Regions from separate parts of the Homo sapiens genome. Here region 1 is linked to region 2. The links are contacts of gene promoters, found by promoter capture Hi-C in human tissues and cell types (Jung and others, 2019). All regions are on one chromosome and are shown on one strand. The core of a region is centred on a gene start or on the middle of the fragment in contact, and the rest is flanking DNA. Distances in the headings are between cores, read along the strand shown. Region 1 has its middle 11 kb from the start of CST2. Region 2 holds the start of CST5 (cystatin D).

Region 1 (3,893 bases), core at 1,078-3,577, 41 kb before region 2:
ATATTTGCTGTTCTGCAGCCTCTGCTGGTGACACTCAGGCAAACAGGGTCTGCAGTGGACCTCCAGCAAACTCCAACAGACCTGCAGCTGAGGGATGTGACAGTTTGAAGGAAGACTAAGAAACAGAAAGGAATAACATCAAAGTCAACAAAAAGAACATCCACACCAAAACTCCATCTGTAGGTCACCATCATCAAAGACAAAAGGTAGATAAAACCACAAAGATGGGGAGAAACCAGAGCAGAAAAGCTGAAAATTCTAAAAACCAGAGCATCACTTCTCCTTCAAAGGATTGCAGCTCCTCGCCAGCAACAAAACAAAGGTGGATGGAGAATGATTTTGATGAGCTGATGAGTTGATAGAAGTAGGCTTCAGAAGATTACTAACAACAAACTTCTCTGAGCTAAAGCAGAATATTTGAACCCATCATAAGGAAGCTAAAAATCTTGGGAAAAGATTAGATGAATGGCTAACTAGAATTAACAGGGTAGAGAGGACCTTACATGACCCGATGGAGCTGAAAGCCATGGCACGAGACATACATGATGCATGCACAAGCTTCAGTAGCCAAATTGATCAAGTGGAAGAAAGGATATCAGTGATTGAAGATCAAATTAATGAAATGAAGCAAGAAGAGAAGTTTAGAGAAAAAAGAGTAAAAACAAATGAACAAAGCCTCCAAGAAATATGTGGCTATGTGAAAAGACCAAATCTACGTTTGATTGGTGTGCCTGAAGGTGATGGGGAGAATGGAATCAAGCTGGAAAATACTCTTCAGGATATTATCCAGGAGAACTTCCCAGACCTAGCAAGGCAGGCCAACATTCAAATTCAGGAAATACAGAGAACACCACAAAGATACACCTTGAGAAGAGCAACCCCAAGACACATAATGGTCAGATTCACCAAGGTTGAAATGAAGGAAAAAATGTTAAGGGAAGCTAGAGAGAAAGGTTGGGTTACCCACAAAGGGAAGCCCATTAGACTAACAGTGGACCTCTCAAAAGAGACTCTACAAGCCAGAAGAGAGTGGGCGCCAATATTCAACATTCTTAAAGAAAAGAATTTTCAACCTGGAATTTCATATCCAGCCAAACTAAGCTTCATAAGTGAGGGAGAAATAAAATCCCTTACAGAAAAAGCAAATGCTGAGAGATTTTGTCACCACCAGGCCTGCCTTACAAGAGCTCCTGAAGGAAGCACTAAACATGGAAAGGAACAACCAGTAGCAGCCACTGCAAAAACATGCCAAATTGTAAAGACCATCCATGCTAGGAAGAAACTGCATCAATTAATGGGCAAAATAGCCAGCTAACATCATAATGACAGGATCAAATTCACACATAACGCTATTAACCTTAAATGTAAATGGGCTAAATGCCCCAATTAAAAGACACAGACTGGCAAATTGGACAAAGAGTGAAGACCCAACAGTGTGCTATATTCAGGAGACCCATCTCACATGCAGAGACAGATATAGGCTCAAAATAAAAGGATGGAGGAAGATCTACCAAGCAAATGGAAAGAAAAAAAAGCAGGAGTTGCAATTCTAGTCTCTGATCAAACAGACTTTAAACCAACAAAGATCAAAAGAGACAAAGAAGGCCATTACATAATGGTAAAGGGATTAATTCAACGAGAAGAGCTAACTCTCCTAAATATATATGCACCCAATACTGGAGCACCCAGATTCATGAAACAAGTCCTTAGAGACCTACAAAGAGACTCAGACTCCCACACAATAATAATGGGATAATTTAACACCCCACTGTCAATATTACACAGATCAATTAGACAGAAGGTTAACAAGGATATTCAGGACTTGAACTCAGCTCTGCACCAAGCAGACCTAATAGACATCTACAGAACTCTCCACCCCAAATCAACAGAATATACATTCTTCTCAGCACCATCTCACACTTATTCCACAATTGACCACATAGTTGGAAGTAAAGCACTCCTCAGCAAATGTAAAAGAACAGAAATCACAACAAACTGTCTCTCACACCACAGTACAATCAAATTAGAACTCAGCATTAAGAAACTCAGTCAAAATCATATAACTACATGGAAACTGAACAACCGGCTCATGAATGACTACTGGGTAAATAACAAAATGAAGGCAGAAATAAAGATGTTCTTTGAAATCAATGAGAACAAAGACACAACATACCAGAATCTCTGGGACACATTCAAAGCAGTGTGTAGAGGGAAATTTATATCACTAAATGCCCACAAGAGAAAGCAGGAAAGATCTAAAATTGACACCCTAACATCACAATTAAAAGAACTAGACACATAAAAGCAAACAAATTCAAAAAGCTAGCAGAAGGCAAGAAATAACTAAGAACAGAGCAGAACCGAAGGAGATAGAGACACAAAAAACTCTTCAAAAAATCAATGAATCCAAGAGCTGTTTTTTTTAAGAGACCAACAAAATTGATAGATGGCTAGGAAGACTAATAAAGAAGAAAAGAAAGAAGAATCAAATAGATGCAATAAAAAATGGTAAAGGGGATGTAACCACCAATCCCACAAAAATACAAACTACTACCAGAGAATACTACAAACACCTCTACTCAAATAAACTAGAAATTCCAGAAGAAATGGATAAATTCCTGGACACATACACCCTCCCAAGACTAAACCAGGAAGAAGTTGAATCCCTGAATAGAACAATAACAGTCTCTGAAATCGAGGCTATAATTAATAGCCTACCAACCAAAAGAAGTCCAGGACCAGAACGATTCACAGCTGAATTCTACCAGTTACAAACAGGAGCTGGTACCATTCCTTCTGAAACTATTCCAATCAGTAGAAAAAGAGGGAATCCTCACTAACTCATTTTATGAGGCCAGCATCATCCCGATACCAAAGCCTGGCAGAGACACAACCAAAAAAGAGAATTTTAGACCAAATCTCCTGATGAACATCAGTGCAAAAATCCTCAATAAAATGCTGGCAAACTGAATCCAGCAGCATATCAAAAAGCTTATCCACCAAGATCAACTTGGCTTCATCCCTGGGATGCAAGGCTGGTTCAACATACGCAAATCAATAAACGTAATCCATCACATAATCAGAACAAATGACGAAAACCACATGATTATCTCTATAGACGCAGAAAAGGCCTTGGACAAAATTCAACAGCACTTCATGCTAAAAAGTCTCAATAAACTAGGTATTGATGGAACATATCTCAAAATAATAAGAGCTATCTATGACAAACCCACAGCTGATATCATACTGAATGGGTAAAAACTGCAAGCATTCCCTTTGAAAACTGCCACAAGACAGGGATGCTCTCTCTCACCACTCCTATTCAACACAGTGTTGGAAGTTCTGGCCAGGGCAATAAGGCAAGTGAAAGAAATAAAGGGTATTCAATTAGGAAATGAGGAAGGTGAATTGTCCCTGTTTGCAGATGACATGATTGTATATTTAGAAAACCCCATCATCTCAGCCAAAATCTCCTTAAGCTGATAAGCAAATTCAGCAAAGTCTAAGGATACAAAGTCAATGTGCAAAAATCACAGGAATTCCTAAACACCAATCACAGAAAAACAGAGAGTCAAATCATGAGTGAACTCCCATTCACAACTGCTACAAAGAGAATAAAATACCTAGGAATCCAACTTACAAGGGATGTGAAGGATCTCTTCAAGGAGAACTACAAATTACTGCTCAATGAAATAAACGAGGACACAAACAAATGGAAGAATATTCCACGCTCATGGATAGGAAGAATCAATATCCTGAAAATGGCCATAATGCCCAAGGTAAATCATAGATTCATGACATCCCCTTCAAGCTACCAATGACTTTCTTCACAGAATTGGAAAAAACTACTTTAAAGTTCATATGGAACCAAAAAAGAGCCCGCATCGCCAAGT
Region 2 (3,686 bases), core at 976-3,475:
GTCATTGAAGGGACAGTTGTCCAAGTTGGGCTGGGACTTGGTGCATGTGGTTCGACCGAACTTCACATTGAAGTAGTAGTTCACCCCACCCACGATCTACACGCGTGGAAGAGCAGGAAGCAGGGGCAGCATGCTGTCAGTTTCATGCACACGCAGGCACTTCACTGTGACTGAGTCACTGGGCTTGCCTGGGGCTTCATGCCCACACTGTCACCCAAAAGGCACACAAGCCACCTTCTCCTGCTGGCTGGCAGTGGTAGTGTGTCCCAGTCCTTCCTAGTAACTTGTTTTCTCTGGGTATCTCAAGCAAGCTGTCTCATGCAGCCCAGTAGAAAGAGAAGCAGGGGCAGGGCAGATGGAAGCCAGGGCCTAAAACCCCCTTCACTGGATTCAGGAACAGAAGGCACAGCTCTGGGGAACCAGCCAGGGTGGGACAAAGAAACAGTCCTGGCACCAGGCTTGCAGGGCAGGGTCTAAGCACCAAGTGAATGCTCTTTCCCACAGCAAAGGATTAACTGAATTCTGCTACCTGTGCTCAGGGGGCAGGGACACTGGTCCCATCCTAGGAAGGCTGCCACCTGATGATGAAATTTCAGCTAACTTCCAGCTCCTGGCATTCAGTCCACAGAGCATCTCATTCCTGCCATTTAACCCAGAGGTATTTTTCCTCATTTCTCAGTAGGAGATGAGATGCTCACATACATTGATGTTTTAGGCCAATAAACATTGCCTCCTGCATGCCTCCATTCCAGGTGTGATTTTCAAGGCAATATTTCTAAAGTGAGTCACACACCTGCATGTCTTAGGGTTGCAACTTCAGAAGAGAACTGAATGCTTTCCCTGCACAGTGCCGCCCCAAAACATGACTTGTCAGAACTGTGGAGAAGCATGGGATGAGGGACCCTGGGACCAGGGTGCTAGACCTTGCCCTGTGGAACCACACACAAGTCCTGTAGAACCACATGGAAGTCCTGTGATCCCTCCGGTGTCAGTCTGCTGCTCTGTAAAATAGGCTCCAGGGCCCAACGATCTACATCATTCTGTGCTTCACTCCCAGTGAGTGACACACTTAAGAGGGAGTGCAGGCCAGCAGGGACCACAGCACCAGGGAATGCCCCTCCTGTGCAGGGAGAGGGCTGCAGGAGGAGAAACAGGGCTGGTCTGGACTCCTCTGACTTTCCAAGAGAAGGTGGAGGAGCTCTAAAGGCTGGCAGGCCATATAGCCCTGTGGTCGCTGTGTCACTGCTGCTCTGCCATGGGACGTAGGTCAAGCTGGGCTCGGTAGCCCTGCTGAAGCTTCCTCCCTCTGGACCCAACCACCTCCTTCACTCTGCTGGGTGATTGCTGTCCTCATTTTGCTGAGGTCTAACTCTGCGTTAGCTGGCAGAGGCAGGGTCAGGCATGCTCTACCCCAGCAGGAACTCAGCTGTCCTGGGCTGTAGGGGGTGGTCAGCCAGCCTGAGAGTGAAGGCCACTAGCCATAACGGGCTGTGCCCAGGGGCGTGACTTGGGAGGGAAGCGGGGCTATCCAGGACAAGGAGTCAGGTTCCCGTGTGGCCCCTGTGGAGAGGACTCAGGGAGGAAGATGAACCTCGTGGCCTGGATCTCATCCTGAGCAGCATCAAGCCCACCCAGAGTCAGCACAGTCTCCATCCACACCTGCTGGACCCTGGGAAATGCCACAGTCATGGTACAGACACAGTGGCTGCTGCAGGTTAAAAGAGGCCGAGGGGACAGGACAGGGCTGAACTCATGCACTCACGGCCAAGGAGTGTCCTAGGGCATGAAGACCATCAGCAGACAGTCAGAGAAAGCTGAATGAGTCTGCGGTTTAGATAATGTTGATTTGCTGGGAGTGCTCTGGGGGGTGAGGCAAAAAACCCAGCTGGGACTCAGGACCCCCAGGGTGGTGGTAGCACGCACCTGCTGGTAGGCAGCCATCACCTGCAGAGGGCGGCTGTAGTACTCATCCTTATTAATGACCTTGTTGTACTCGCTGATGGCAAAGTCCAGGGCACACTGCACACTCTTGTCATTGAGGTCTGTGGCATGGATGCCACCTGCCAAGGTCCTAGATTGGGCCGAGGCACTCCCGGCCACGGCCACCATCAAGGCAGTCAGCAGCAGCAGTGGGGTGTGCATGGGCCACATCATGTTCTACTGGGACACAGAGCAAGGAGCTGGATCTCCCAGAGAGCAAAGCAGCAGAAGGCTGAGGCAGGAAGCCCAGGCCAGAAGCTAGCTGTGCATTTATCCTACTTGGGTGTCCCCCAACCCCACCTGCTCCCTGGCCCCGCCCCTGGCTCCTCCTCCTCTTTCTACCCCTCCTCTTCTGTCTCTATCTCCCTTTCCACCCCCAACCACCTCCCTCCCTCCCTAAGTTCCCTTCGCTCCTCCCATGCCTCCTCCTCATCCTCCTCCCCACTCCTGTCCTGACCGCAACCTCCCCACAGCCCTGCCCCTCTTCCTCAGTGCTCTAAAGCTTGGCTCACTCTGGATTCCAGAGAGGTGACACCGCTCCCTGGGCTGTGAAACCTGGTGACCACCTATGTCCACAGGAAAGGGAGAAATACAGGGCTTGGCCTTCTAAAGTCTTCAGATGTCAGGGGCATCCAGGAGCACGTGGTCATGGTCTGGGAATTCCTGGGGCAGGGAGCTGTTTCAGAAGCTCCGGGATGACCTTGTCCATGCCCTCTTCTGGGGAACTTCTTTGCCAAACATAAAGTAATTAACCTTTGGGTAAAGTTCACTGGGTTCTCGTTTCATAACTCCTCATTATTCAATAAACAAACCTGTCACCAGCTTCCCCCTGCACCAAGCAGTCTGGGCAATAGAGCCGTAGACATGAACTTGCAGAGCTGCCATCCAACAGAGATGTGACAGAAACCCAGGAGCAATTTAAAACACATTTGAAAAAGTTAAAAGATACAGCTGAAAGTAATTTTGGTATTTCTACTTTAACCTAATATATCCAAAATACTTCAACACTTCAGGACTATTCTTAAGGAGCTAGTTTACATTCTTTTGTGTGAGTGTAATGTCTTGAAGTTCCCTGTGTATTTTTTACAGTTAGACCAAGCGTCACTGTGGACTAGCCCCATTTCAAGTGCCCTGTGGCCACGAGTGGCTGCTGGTGGCTGTGGTACTGCATAGCCCAGCCATTAGGGTGTGTGGGAGGATGCAGAGTGGTGATCAACAATTTAGATCAGGGAATTATAGTCGCTCAGTTAGAGAGAGGGTGGGTGCTACTGGACCCTGGTCAGGGAAGTCTCTAAGAGACCGGAAAGGTTGAGAAGCCCCAGGCAGCAGGGAATAGTCAGTGCAAAGGCCCTGAGGCAAGGCTGGGCATGCCTGCTCCAGGAAGAGGAAGCTCCTGGAGGGGGTGTGAGCAGGGAAGGGAACGACCTGGAGTCTCACGGTAACTGTGGGTGTGTCCAGGTGGAAGGCGCAGGGAGACCCCTGGCAGGTGGTGGGGGTGTCAGGAGAAGGAGCAGCAGCCACAGGATGAATGTGGGAGCCCAAGAGCCTCTCTTGCTCCTCCCCTCTGGGAGACGTGCTGCCAGCACTGGTCCTCTGTACACTGCTTGGAAAACTCATGTAATATTTTAAAAATTACATTGAATGAGGTAGAATTTACACACAATAAAATGCCTAATTGTATGTGCCCAATCTGGGGGATTTCATAA

Evidence for each region. Contacts are between HindIII fragments. The study calls those that stand out against the background at their distance.
Region 1: a contact is called between a fragment that was not itself captured here and the fragment with the promoter of CST5 in region 2, in 2 of the 25 tissues and cell types used here (H1 embryonic stem cells and spleen).

Annotation. Positions count from the first base shown.
Region 1 is chr20:23,836,267-23,840,159 of GRCh38, forward strand. No RefSeq gene overlaps it. Among named protein-coding and RNA genes, the nearest start is that of CST2, 11 kb to the left of the region's middle. The HindIII fragment of the contact is 4,139 bases long and covers 259-3,893 here.
Region 2 is chr20:23,877,523-23,881,208 of GRCh38, forward strand. It overlaps CST5 (cystatin D), which reads right to left and starts at 2,226. Exons shown (of 3, transcript NM_001900.5): 1 at 1,924-2,226; 2 at 1-96. The coding sequence starts at 2,154. RefSeq lists an enhancer at 1,719-2,548. The HindIII fragment of the contact is 5,935 bases long and covers 1-3,686 here.